Regions from separate parts of the Homo sapiens genome. Here region 2 is linked to region 1. Evidence: promoter capture Hi-C in human tissues and cell types (Jung and others, 2019). All regions are on one chromosome and are shown on one strand. Each heading gives the region's core, a stretch centred on a gene start or on the middle of the fragment in contact. The rest is flanking DNA. Distances are from core to core; before and after follow the strand shown. Region 1 holds the start of MED16 (mediator complex subunit 16). Region 2 overlaps TPGS1 (tubulin polyglutamylase complex subunit 1).

The links. The method cuts DNA at HindIII sites, captures the fragments that hold promoters and counts their contacts. A contact is called where the count stands out against the background at its distance.
Region 2: a fragment that was not itself captured here is called in contact with the fragment with the promoter of MED16 in region 1 in 1 of the 25 tissues and cell types used here (lymphoblastoid cells).

What each region holds. Positions count from the first base shown.
Region 1 is chr19:891,227-897,197 of GRCh38, forward strand. It overlaps MED16 (mediator complex subunit 16), which reads right to left and starts at 1,961. Exons shown (of 16, transcript NM_005481.3): 1 at 1,860-1,961. RNU6-9 (RNA, U6 small nuclear 9) reads left to right here and starts at 2,258; the gene lies at 2,258-2,364. It overlaps R3HDM4 (R3H domain containing 4), which reads right to left. Exons shown (of 8, transcript NM_138774.4): 8 at 5,277-5,971. RefSeq lists silencers at 1,579-1,628, 1,679-1,948 and an enhancer at 2,089-2,238. The HindIII fragment of the contact is 37,799 bases long and covers 1-5,971 here.
Region 2 is chr19:513,405-519,894 of GRCh38, forward strand. It overlaps TPGS1 (tubulin polyglutamylase complex subunit 1), which reads left to right. Exons shown (of 2, transcript NM_033513.3): 2 at 5,485-6,250. The coding sequence ends at 6,019. Among named protein-coding and RNA genes, the nearest start is that of MADCAM1-AS1, 8.8 kb to the left of the region's middle. RefSeq lists an enhancer at 5,054-5,960. The HindIII fragment of the contact is 7,591 bases long and covers 1-5,075 here.

The DNA.
Region 1 (5,971 bases), core at 711-3,210:
AAAACAATGGAGGCCCGTGGTAGAGGGAACAGCCGATGCAAAGGCCCGGAGGCCAGACAGAGCCTGGGGCTGGGGCCGAGGGGGAACATGGAGAGGTCAGGGCCAGTCCTGGGCCTGTGGGCTTCTACTCTCAGTAAGGTGGGAGCCCGGGAGGGCTGGGACCTATTTGGGTTTCACCAGGACCCCTCTGGCTGTCTAGGGAACAGACCATGGGGGCCAAGGGCACAGCCGGGAGACGCAGCGGAGGGTCTGCGCTGGCCCAGGTGAGTGATGATGGGGGCAGCAAGTGGACACTAGCTCTCTCCCGAAGGAAGAGCCCGCAGACAGGCAAGCGGTGGGGCGGCTCCCTGTAGCCGAGGCGGGGCTGAGTGACAGGGAACACCTGTGGCCGAGGCGGGGCTGAGTGACAGGGAACACCTGTGGCCGAGGCGGGGGCTGAGTGTGACGGGGAACACCTGTGGCCGAGGCGGGGCTGAGTGTGACGGGGAACACCTGTGGCCGAGGCGGGGCTGACTGACAGGGAACACCTGTGGCCGAGGCGGGGGCTGAGTGTGACGGGGAACACCTGTGGCCGAGGCGGGGCTGAGTGTGACGGGGAACACCTGTGGCCGAGGCGGGGCTGAGTGTGACGGGGAACACCTGTGGCCGAGGCGGGGGCTGAGTGTGACGGGGAACACCTGTGGCCGAGGCGGGGCTGAGTGTGATGGGGAACACCTGTGGCCGAGCCGGGGGCTGAGTGTGACGGGGAACACCTGTGGCCGAGGCGGGGCTGAGTGTGACGGGGAACACCTGTGGCCGAGGCGGGGCTGAGTGTGTTGGGGAACACCTGTGGCCGAGGCGGGGGCTGAGTGTCACAGGGAACAGAGGGGGCACCTCCTCGAGGCTTTCTAAGCGCCTGGCATCCAGACGGGCTGTTTCGCTTCGCAAAGGCAAAAGCCCAGGGAGCCTGGAATCACCCGCAACCAGGTTCTCCTCAAACCCTAACCCCGGCTCCCTACTTCTTCAGGGCCTGCCCCAGACCCCCAAGGCTCCGCCACAAGCCTCTAAAAGTCTTTCAGCCCCACCCCTGACCCCCTTTGCTTCCCACACTTCATTTCACCCCTTGAGCCCACGGCCTCACCCTAAATTCTCAGGCTTCACCGTAGGGGTCCCATGTACTCTCCAGGTCCAGCCTCCAACGCCCTTAGCTCTCCAGGCCCAACCCCTAAAACTCCCCAGTCCCCAGACTCCACCCCGGGGACCCCACGTACTCTCCAGGCCCTTCCCCTATTGCCCCCAAATACGAGGCTTCATCCCAGGGACCCCATAGCCTCTTCAGGCCCCGCCCCTATAACCCCCAATCTCCAGGGTCCATCCCAGGGACCCCCTACCCTCTCCAGACCCCTATAACTCCGCAGTCCCCAGTCTCCACCCTAGGGACCCTATTCCCTCTCCAGGCCCCGCACCGATAACCCCGCAGTCTCCAGGCCCTGCCTCTACAGCCCCCCAGTCCCCAGGCTCCACCCCGGCGACCCCAAACCCACTCCAGGCCCCGCCCCCGAAGTCCCACCAAGCGCCTTCAGCCTCGCCCCAAACTCTCCTTAGGCCCCGCCCCGAACCCAGCCCCGCGGGCCTCAGGCCTCCCCCAGGTTTCCGCCGCAAACCCTGAGCCCCGAGCCCCGCGCCCCGCGCCCCGCGCCCCGCGCCCCGCGCCCCGCGCCCCGCGCCCCGCGCCCCAGGCCGCCTACCCAGCAGCCTTTGCTCCCGGCCACGCCCCCGACCCCGCAGGCCCCGCCACGGCTGCGCCGCGTTCCCTCGGGTCCGTGGACACGGTCAGGGGTCCGTCCGCCCTCGCCGGGCCCCCGCAGCCCCGCACTCACCTGGTCGGCCCGTGCGCCAAGCTCAGCGGGCGTCCGCGGTGCGATCTTCCCTAGCGCCTCGGGTCTGGCGCCGCCATCTTCCTCGGTAACAACCAGTCGCCTGAGGCGTGGGGCCGCCTCCCAAAGACTTCTGGGAGGGCGGTGCGGCTCAGGCTCTGCCCCGCCTCCGGGGCTATTTGCATACGACCATTTCCAGTAATTCCCAGCAGCCACCGTAGCTATATTTGGTAGAACAACGAGCACTTTCTCAACTCCAGTCAATAACTACGTTAGTTGCATTACACATTGGGCTAATATAAATAGAGGTTAAATCTCTAGGTCATTTAAGAGAAGTCGGCCTATGTGTACAGACATTTGTTCCAGGGGCTTTAAATAGCTGGTGGTGGAACTCAATATTCGTGCTCGCTTCGGCAGCACATATACTAAAATTGGAACGATACAGAGAAGATTAGCATGGCCCCTGCGCAAGGATGACACGCAAATTCGTGAAGCGTTCCATATTTTTTTTTTTTTTTCCATTTTCCCTCCCAGAAACGGAATCTTGCTCTGTTGCCCAGGCTGGAATGCAATGGCGCGATCTTAGCTTGTTGCAACCTCCGCCTCCCGGGTTGAAGCGATTCTCCTGCCTCAGCCTCCCGAGTAGCTGGGATTATAAACATGCGCCACCACGCCCGGCTAATTTTTGTATTTTGGTAGAGACGGGGTTTCGCCATGTTGGCCAGGGTGGTCTCTATCTACTGACCTCCTGATCCGCCCGCCTCGGCCTCCCAGAGTACTGGGATTACAGGTGTGAGCCACCGCGCCCGGCCTTTCTTCCATTTTCTAATGTCCAAGAGTGGGGAAACTGTAAGCGAAGTCACCGACCCCGTTGAGTATTCCTACTTCCAACCCTATTCCCACCTCCTCCTCCAAAAGCCAGTTTAATGCAATGGATGTGGTGCTCTTCTATTTTTATTTTTATTTTTTTTGAGACAGGGTCTCGCTCTGTGGCCCAGGCTGGAGTGCAGTAGCGCGATCTCAGCTCACTGCAACCTCCGCCTTCCAGGCTCAAGCGATTCTCCTGCCTCAGCCTCCCGAGTAGCTGGGACTACAGGCGCGCACCACCATGCCCAACAAATTCTTGTATTTTTAGTAGAGACGGAGTTTCACCATGTTGGCCAGGATGGTCTCAGTCTCTTGACCTGGTGATCTGCCTGCCTCAGCCTCCCAAAGTGCTGGGATTACAGGCGTGAGCCACCGCGCCCAGCCTGTTTTTTCAAAATTTTAATAGCGATGGGGTCTCACTATGTTGCCCAGGCTGATTTCAAACTCCAGGCCTCAAGCCCTCCTTCCACCCCGGCCTCCCAAAGTGCTGGGATTATAGGCGTGAGCCACCGCGGCCTCACTGCATGATTTTTGCAAGAATTCTGCAAATATAAAACTGTTCTAAAATTACAGGTTAACAATGGCCCAAATATCAGAGTGTTTTTTCTGGATCAGGGTTCAGTTCTCCAAGAGGGCCACGCAGTGACCTTACAGAAAATCCCCATTCCCAGGCAGCAGGTAGGGATTTAACGTTCTTAGCGGCCCGGGTGTGGTGGCACACACCTGTAATCCCAGTACTTTGGGAGGCCAAGGTCTGAGGACAGCTTGAGTTTGAGACCAGCCTGGGAAACATAGCCAGACCCCGTCTCTACAAAAAAAAATTAAAAATTAGCAGGGTTGGGGAGGGAGGGGCGCTGGGCAAGGTGGTTCAGGCCTGTAATCCCTGAACTTTGGGAGGCTGAGGCACGCAGATCACCTGAGAACAGGAGTTCGAGACTAGCCTGGCCAACATGTTGAAACCACATCTCTACTAAAAATACAAAAATATTAGCTGGGCATGGTGACACATGCCTGTAGTCCTAGCTACTCTAGAGGTTGAGGCAGGAGAATCACTTGAACCCAAGAGGTGGAGGTTGCAGTGAGCTGAGATCGCGCCACTGCACTCCAGCCTGGGGGACAGAGCAAGACTCTGTCTCAAAATAAATAAATAAATAAATAAAATAGCTGGGTGGGGTGATGCACACCTGTAGGCCCAGTTACTCAGGAGGCAAAAGTGGGAGGATCACTTCAGTCTGGGAGGTCAAGGCTGCAGTGAGCTGGGATTGTACCTCTGCACTCCAGCCAGGGCAACAGAGCCAGACCCTGTCTAAAAAAAAAAAAAAAAAAAAAAGAGAGGTTGAATTCCTAACTCCCACTACCTCAGAATGTGACCTTATTTAGAAACAGGGTCTTTGCAGAGGTAATCAGGTTAAAAGGAGGTGATTAGCATGGGCCTAACCTAATGACGGGCATCATAGAGATGGATATTTGGGCACAGACACGTGAGGAGAGGACGATGTCAAGACAAGACATAACACACAGGGAAAACGGCCACTTGGAGATGAGACCACAGCAATGTGGCCACAAGCCATGGACACACGAAGTCCCCAGAAACCGGGAAAGGCAGGAAGGCTCCTCCCCTAGAGACGCTGGAGGGAGCACTGCCCTGCAGACACCATGACCTCATTCTTCTACCTCCAGCATTGTGAGAGGATAGATTTCCCTTTTGCTTCTCTTTGACCTAGGGTCTTCCTCCATACCCAGGCTGAAGTGCAGTGGCACGGTCTCAGCTCACTGCAGGCTCAAGTGATCCTCCCACCTCAGCCTCCCAAGTAGCTGGGACTACAGGCGCACACCACACCCTGCTAATTTTTGTGTGTGTGACAGAGTTTTGCTCTTGTTGCCCAGGCTGGAGTGCAAAGGTGCGATCTCAGCTCACTGCAGCCTCTACCACCTGGGTTCAAGCAATTCTCCTGCCTCAGCCTCCTGAGTAGCTGGCATTACAGGCATGCACCACCACACTCGGTTAATTTTGTATTTTTAGTAGAGATGGGGTTTCTCCATGTTGGTCAGGCTGGTCTTGAACTCCTGACCTTGTGATCCACCCGCTTTGGCATCCCCAAAGTGCTGGGATTACAGGTGTGAGCAGCCACCATGCCCAGCCAACCCTGCTAATTTCTCTCATGTTTTGTAGAGACAAGGTCTTGCTATGTTGCCCTGGTTGGTTTCAAACTCCTGGGCTCAAGCGATCCTCCTGCCTTGGCCTCCCAAGGTGCTGGGATCACAGGCATGAGCTACTGCACTGGCCTTCTGTCGTTTCAAGCCCCCTGTGTGAGACCCTCCATTACAGGGGCCCCAAGGCACTCGTACAAGCCACTCACTCAAGGTCTACAGGGGCCCCAAGGCACTCCTACAAGCTCCTCACCCAAGGTCACACGGCAGGCATGTGGCAGAGCCAGGGTTTGAATCCAGGCAACCAAGGGCAGAGGAGCCAGGGGGGCACCTGCAGCCCTTGGTGGCCAGGACCTACTAAGCCCCCGGCCCTGCCCCGAAGAAAAACACACATAGCCCGAGGCCAGAGCACCAGAAATTTATTAAATTCCCCACTTTCCCCCAAAACACAATTACCCACACGCAGCAAGGGGGTGCGGAGGCCCCCCAGCCTGGCTCCTGCAGCCTGGGCCAGGAGGACCAGCATGGGGACACAGGAGCTATCAGGCAGGAGTCAGGCTGGGGGACGAGGGGACACGGGATGGGGTGACAGACAAGGTAGTGCAAGGGCAGAGGCTTCTGGCTGGAAGTCCTGGACCCCCAGCATAAAGGAGGGGAGGAAAGGAAGGGGGCTCATATAAAGCAGGAGACCCTGAGCCCCGACACAGGTGGCGTGGGGGAGGACACGCAGAATGACGAGGATAAAACCGGCTCTTAGGACCGTGGCTTCTGTCCTGGGTCTCAGGGCACACGCGCGCACACATATACAACACAAGATGCTTCTGGCATGAGGGGCAGGGTCCCAGAGACCCCACCCTCATTCAAGCTAAAAACTGGGAGGGGCTGAGCAGGGGCTGGGACCAAGACCCATGTTTTACCAGTGGGGCGAGTTTTTTTGGTTTTTCTCTCCAAAAGGGAAATTTAAAAATCTACAACAAATCACACCAAATTCATTAAAAGTGATAAAAACCCAGCCTCCCCCTCCTCACTTGAGCTTCAGACCGGGCCAGAAAAGCTCAACGATGAAGAAACAGGAACATGCCCAGGTCAGGTCTCCC
Region 2 (6,490 bases), core at 30-2,529, 380 kb before region 1:
CCTCAGTTTCCTCCTCCATAGCAGAGCTTTGACCCTCGAGCTCGCTGAGATGGCACGTCCATCCCTAAGCCCTGAACTGAGCAGCAGTGATGACCAGGGAGGCACGTGTTCACCAGGCACCCACCGTGCACCGGCCCAGCATTACTGAGCACCTACTGTGCACCCGCCCAGCATTTACTGAGCACCTACTGCATGCCGGCCCTGCATTACTGAACACCTACTGCACACCAGCCCAGCATTACTGAGCACCTACTGCATACTGGCCCTGCATTACTGAGTACCTACTGCACACCAGCCCAGCATTACTGAGTACCTACTGCACACCAGCCCAGCATTACTGAGTACCTACTGCACACCAGCCCAGCATTACTGAGTACCTACTGCACACCAGCCCCACATTTACTGAGCACCTACTGCACACTGGCCCCACATTTACTGAGCACCTATTGCATCCTGGCCCAGCATTTAGTGAGCACCCACTGCACACAACCCCAGCATTACTGAGCACCTACTGTGCACTAGTCCTGCATTACTGAGCACCTGCTGCACACCAACCTGCCCCGGCCCCACATTTACTGAGCACCTATTGCATGCTGGCCCAGCATTTACTGAGCACCCACTGTACACAGACCCAGCATTACTGAGCACCCACTGCACACTGGCCCCACATTTGCTGAGCACCTACTATGTACCAGCCCTGCATTCACTAAGCACCTACTGTACACCAGCCCTGTATTACTGAGCACCCACTGCACACTGACCCTACATTTACTGAGCACCTATTGCATGCTGGCCCAGCATTTACTTCACTCCCACTGCACACCGCCCCAGCATTACTGAGTACCTACCGTGTACTGGCCCTGCATTCACTGAGCACCTACTCTACACCGGCCCTGTATTACTGAGCACCCACTGCACACCGACCCCACGTTTACTAAGCACCTATTGCTTACTGGCCCAGCATTTACTGAGCACCCACTGCACACCGCCCCAGCATTACTGAGTACCTATTGCACACCAGCCCCACATTTACTGAGCACCTATTGCATTCTGGCCCAGCATCACTGAGCACCTACTGTGTACCAGCCCTGCATTACTGAGCACCTGCTGCACACCAACCCTGCATTTACTGAGCACCTACTGCATGCTGGCTTAGCACTTCCCCGGCACCTACCACAGGTGGCCCACAGAAAGGTGAAGTCGTGTGCCCAGGTCATGCCGGAGGGAAGGCTGCCCTCCTCACCATGAAGCTGAGCTCCCAGAAGGGAAAAGCGTAAGCCCTGAGGTTGGCCACTTCCTCTCTGGGACCCTTGGCCAGACCATGGGGCTGCCCTGAGCCTCAGTTTCCCTATATGTCCCAGAGGAAGTAACAGGCCACTAGCATGAGGCCTGGCCGGGAACTGATGGGGGGAGTGAGGCCAGGGGGTTAAGCAGCCCACCCAGGGTCCTGCAGCGGCCCCCACGCTGGCCACGGTGCTCCCTGGCCACTCCCTGGTGCCCTCCACGGGAGTGTGTGTCACACTACCAGCACACGAGTGGCACGTAGTAAGGCCTCAGGCTCCTCACTGGGGCAGGGAATCGAACCCACCCCAGAGCCGGCAGCAGGGCTGACAGCCTTCTTCTGTAAGGGGCCAGATAGTGAACATTTCAGCTTTGCGTGGCAGCCTCCATCCTGACATTCAGCTCTACGGTTCTGGTCGGAAGCTGCCACAGGCCACATGTCAGCGGACTGATGTGGTTATGTTCCGATAAAGCTTTATTTACAAAAGCAGGCAGCAGGTCGTATTTGACCCTCAGGCTGACTGTGGGGCCTTGCCTGTGGGATTGTGGGGAGAGAAATACCACCACTGGCCCCGAGCAGCAACTGTCACCTGTAATCCCAGCAGTTTGGGAGGCTGAGGCAGGAGGATCGCTTGAGCCCAGGAGGTGGAGGCTGCTGTGAGCCCTGATTGTACCACTGCTCTCCAGCCTGCACAACACAGTGAGACCCTGTCTCAAAAAAAAAAAAAAAAGAAAAAATGCAATGTCAGCTGTGTTAAATGTTCAGCACAGACTGGGCGCAGTGGCTCACACCTGTAATCCCAGCACTTTGGGAGGCCGAGGTGGGCGGACCACGAGGTCACTCGAGATCCAGACCATCCTGGCCGACATGGTGAAACCCCGTCTCTACTAAAAATACAAAAATTAGCTGGGTGTGGTAACACACGCCTGTAATCCCAGCAGCTCAGGAGGCTGAGGCAGGAGAATCGCTTGAACCCGGGAGGTGGAGGTTGCTGTGAGCTGAGATTGTGCCACTGCACTCCAGCCTGACAACAGAGTGAGACACTGTCTCAAAAAAAGAAAGAGGGCCGGGCGCGGTGGCTCACGCCTGTAATCCCAGCACTTTGGGAGGCCGAGGCGGGTGGATCACGAGGTCAGGAGATCGAGACCATCCCGGCTAAAACGGTGAAACCCCGTCTCTACTAAAAATACAAAAAATTAGCCGGGCATAGTGGCGGACGCCTGTAGTCCCAGCTACTTGGGAGGCTGAGGCAGGAGAATGGCGTGAACCCGGGAGGCGGAGCTTGCAGTGAGCCGAGATCCCGCCACTGCACTCCAGCCCGGGCGACAGAGCGAGACTCCGTCTCAAAAAAAAAAAAAAAAGGAAGAAAGAAAGAAAGAAAAGAAAAAAACAAATGTCAGTTGTGTTAAATGTTGGGCACAGTATTTGGCCACATGTAAACAGGCGCTGCTGCTGCAGGGAGGGAGACCAGAGGGTCCTGGTGTTGTGGGACAAAGAGTGGAGAGACCGAAAAAGGTTCAGGAGAGTTTATCAAGGTGATCACCGGCTCAGCTGGACATACATCCAGAAAGTCTGAGCCTCGAACAAAGGGCTTTTCCTATTTTTAAACATCGTAAGGCGGGAACTACGTGAGGCGGGAAGCAAGTTACAGAGGCGAGAAACAAAGGCAGTTAAGCATTACAGCATTTCTTTTTTCTTTTTCTTTTTTTTTTTTTTGAGACGGAGTCTCGCTCTGTCGCCCAGGCTGGAGTGCAGTGGCGCCATCTTGGCTCACCGCAACCTCCACCTCCCAGGTTCAAGCGATTCTCCTGCCTCAGACTCCCGAGTAGCTGGGACTACAGACGTGTACCACCACGTCCCGCTAATTTTTGTATTTTTAGTAGAGATGGGGTTTCACCATGTTGGCCAGGATGGCCTCAATCTCTTGACCTTGTGATCCTCCCACCTCGGCCTCCCAAAGTGCTGGGATTACAGGCGTGAGCCACCGTGCCTGGCCAACATTTCTCACATCTTGAGAAAAACATGTCTTACAACCTAAACTTATCGGTTTTGTGACCCTGCAGCCGTGCTAGGGAGGTAAGCAGGAACTCGCTGGGCCTGTAATAAACTGAGGAATGTGGAGTTGGAGAGTATAGATAAGGTCCACTGACTACAGAGAGAAGACAGGCTGTTAACATTCTCTTTTAACTTGAGTGTAAGGGTGGGGGTCACACTTTGCAGCAACTTTAAGAGGATTTTAAAATTTCTATGACTACTACTATTAGGTTAGAGCTGATTTCACTAATTCCTTCTTCACTGGGGCCAGATGCCCCAGACAGATGCCTGCCGTTGATTCAAGACATTTACTGAGCACCTACTGTGGGCAGGGCAGTGTTCTGGGCACCAGGGCTATAACCAAGACGAACTTCCGGCCCTGGAGGGCAGGTGCTCACACTGGTGGGAGACATGAAGCTCACAGGGATGTGGGACAGCGAGTGAGACAGGATGACCACTAGGAAGAAAACAGGAGGAAAGGAGTTAGGGGTCAGGGGAGGCGACATTTGAGGAGAGACCTGGAGGAGACCAGGGAGGAGGTGAGGGAGATCTGGGGGAAGGCAGTGTCACGGCCCTTGCAGAGGCCCTGAGGCCGGTCCAGTTGGAGCTGGGAAGCCAGGGCTGGATGGGAGCTGCGGGGAGGAGAGGCCTGAGCTGGGTGGAGGCTGGGAGGGGGGAGGCCAGGCTGGGTGGGGGCTGGGAGGGGGGAGGCCAGGCTGGGTGGGGGCTGGCCAGGCTGGGTGGGGGCTGGGAGGATGGAGGCCAGGATGGGTGGGGGCTGGAAGGGGGGAGGCCCAGGCTGGGGGGTGCTGGGAGGACGGAGGCCAGGCTGGGTGGGGGCTGGGAGGGGGGAGGCCAGGATGGGTGGGGGCTGGGAGGAGGGAGGCCAGGCTGGGTGGGGGCTAGAAGGGGGGAGACCCAGGCTGGGGGGTGCTGGGAGGACGGAGGCCAGGCTGGGTGGGGGCTGGGAGGGGGGAGGCCAGGCTGGGGGGTGCTGGGAGGAGGAGGCCGAGGCTGGGTAGGGGCTGGGACGGGGGAGGCCAGGCTGGGTGGAGGCGGGGATGAGGGAGACCCAGGTTGGGAGGAGGAGGCCGAGGCTGGGGGTGCTGGTGGGGAGGGGAGGCCCGGGCTGGGCGGTGCTGGGAGGAGGGAGGCCAGGCTGGGTGGGGGCTGGGAGGAGGAGGCCCAGGCTGGGTAGAGGCTGGGAGGAGGGAGATCCAGGTTGGGAGGAGGCCCAGGCTGGGTAGAGGCTGGGAGGAGGGAGATCCAGGTTGGGAGGAGGCCGAGGCTGGGGGTGCTGGTGGGGAGGGGAGGCCCAGGCTGAGGGGGTGCTGGGAGGAGGAAGGCCTGGCTGGGTGGGTGCTGGGAGGAGGGAGCCCCGGGCTGGGGGGTGCTGGGAGGAAGGAGGCCAGGCTGGGTGGGAGCTGGGAGGAGGGAGGCCCAGGCTGGGAGTGCTGGTGGGGTGGGGAGGGGAGGCCCAGGTTGAGTAGGGGCTGGGAAGAGGGAGGCCCCGGCTGGGTAGGGGCTGGGAGGAGGGAGGCCAGGCTGGGTGGGAGCTGGGAGGAGGGGAGGTCCAGGCTGGGTAGGGGCTGGGAGGAGGGAGGCCCAGGCTGGGAGTGCTGGTGGGGTGGGGAGGGGAGGCCCAGGTTGAGTAGGGGCTGGGAAGAGGGAGGCCCGGGCTGGGTAGGGGCTGGGAGGAGGGAGGCCTGGGCTTGGGATACTGGGGGGAGGAGAGGCCAGGGCTGGGAGGGGGCTGAGAGGAGGAGGCCTGGGCTGGAGATGCTGGGGGAGGAGAGGCCCAGGCTGGGGATGCTTGGGGGAGGGAGGCCTGGGCTGGGAGGGGACTGGGAGGAGGGAGGCCTGGGCTGGGGATGCTGGGGGGAGGAGAGGCCCGGGCTGGGGATGCTTGGGGGAGGAGAGGCCCGGGCTGGGGATGCTGCGGGGAGGAGAGGCCCTAGCTGGGAGAAGGGAGGCGGGGGCTCAAGAGAGGAGCTTCAGGGATAGAGGGTGAGGAGGAGGGGAGGCCGGGGATGGGGGGTAGGAGGAGAGGGGAGGCCAGGGCTGGCTGGGGGGTCGGGGAGGCTAGGGCATAGGCCTGGCGAGGAGGGGAGGCTGGGGCTGGGTGGGCGCGCGGTCTCTGCCGGCCCCCAACGTCCCCGTCTCCGCAGGGCCGCCTTCAACAACAACGTGAGCGTGGCCTACGAGTGCCTGAGCGCCGGCGGGCGCAGGAAGAGGCCGGGGCTGGACGGGCGCACCTACAGCGAGCTGCTCAGGCGCATCTGCCGGGACGGCCAAGCCCCCGAGGAGGTGGTGGCGCCGCTGCTGCGCAAGGTGCAGTGCCGTGACCACGAGGCGGTGCCGCTGAGCGTCTTCCGCGCGGGCACACTCACCTGCTTCGTGCTGCTGGAGTTCGTGGCGCGCGCCGGCGCGCTCTTCCAGCTGCTGGAGGACTCGGCCGCCGCCGTGGCCGACCGCCGCGTGGGCCAGGCCGTGCTGGACACCCTGGAGGGCGCGCTGCAGGCCAGCGACGCCGCCGCGCCCGCGCGCTTCCTGGAGGCCGGCTCGCGCTTGGGGCCCGACAGCCTGGCGCTGGCGCTGGACCGCGCCGTCGGGGGGCGGCGGCCCAGCGCGCCCATGACCCGCGAGGAGTTTCTGGAGAGGGCCGCCGCGCTCTTCATCGCGAAGGTCAAGCCGGTGGGCTGAGGCCCGTGGGCCGCGCGGATCCGGGATCTGCGCTGGGGGGTCCCCGCGTGCGGGGCGCGCGGAGCCTTCCCTTCGCCCTGGTGAGGCCCTGCCATAACCAGGCGCCCAGCCCTGCGGAGGAGGCCGGGGCTCCCAGGAAGCGGACGCCCGGTCCCCACACAGCGCCGCGGCCGCCCCTCCACCCCCGCGGGAGCCCCTGCCCCACGCTAATAAAATGTGTTGCGAGGCTGACGCTGGTGTGTATGCGAGCGCCCGCCTCCCAGCCCCGGTGCCCGCAGAAGACGCTTTTCCCCAGCAGGTCACCCACGGCCCCGGAACCGCGGCGACTGGAGGCTGGATTCGAGGCCGGAAACGCCGGGACCCCTGGACCCGGCCTGGTGGGAGCAGCGGAGGGGGACGCCCCACGGGGCCCTGCGGAGCCTGAAGCCGGAGAGCAGGCGGCTCTTCTGGAACGCAGGGCCCGGGCCCTCC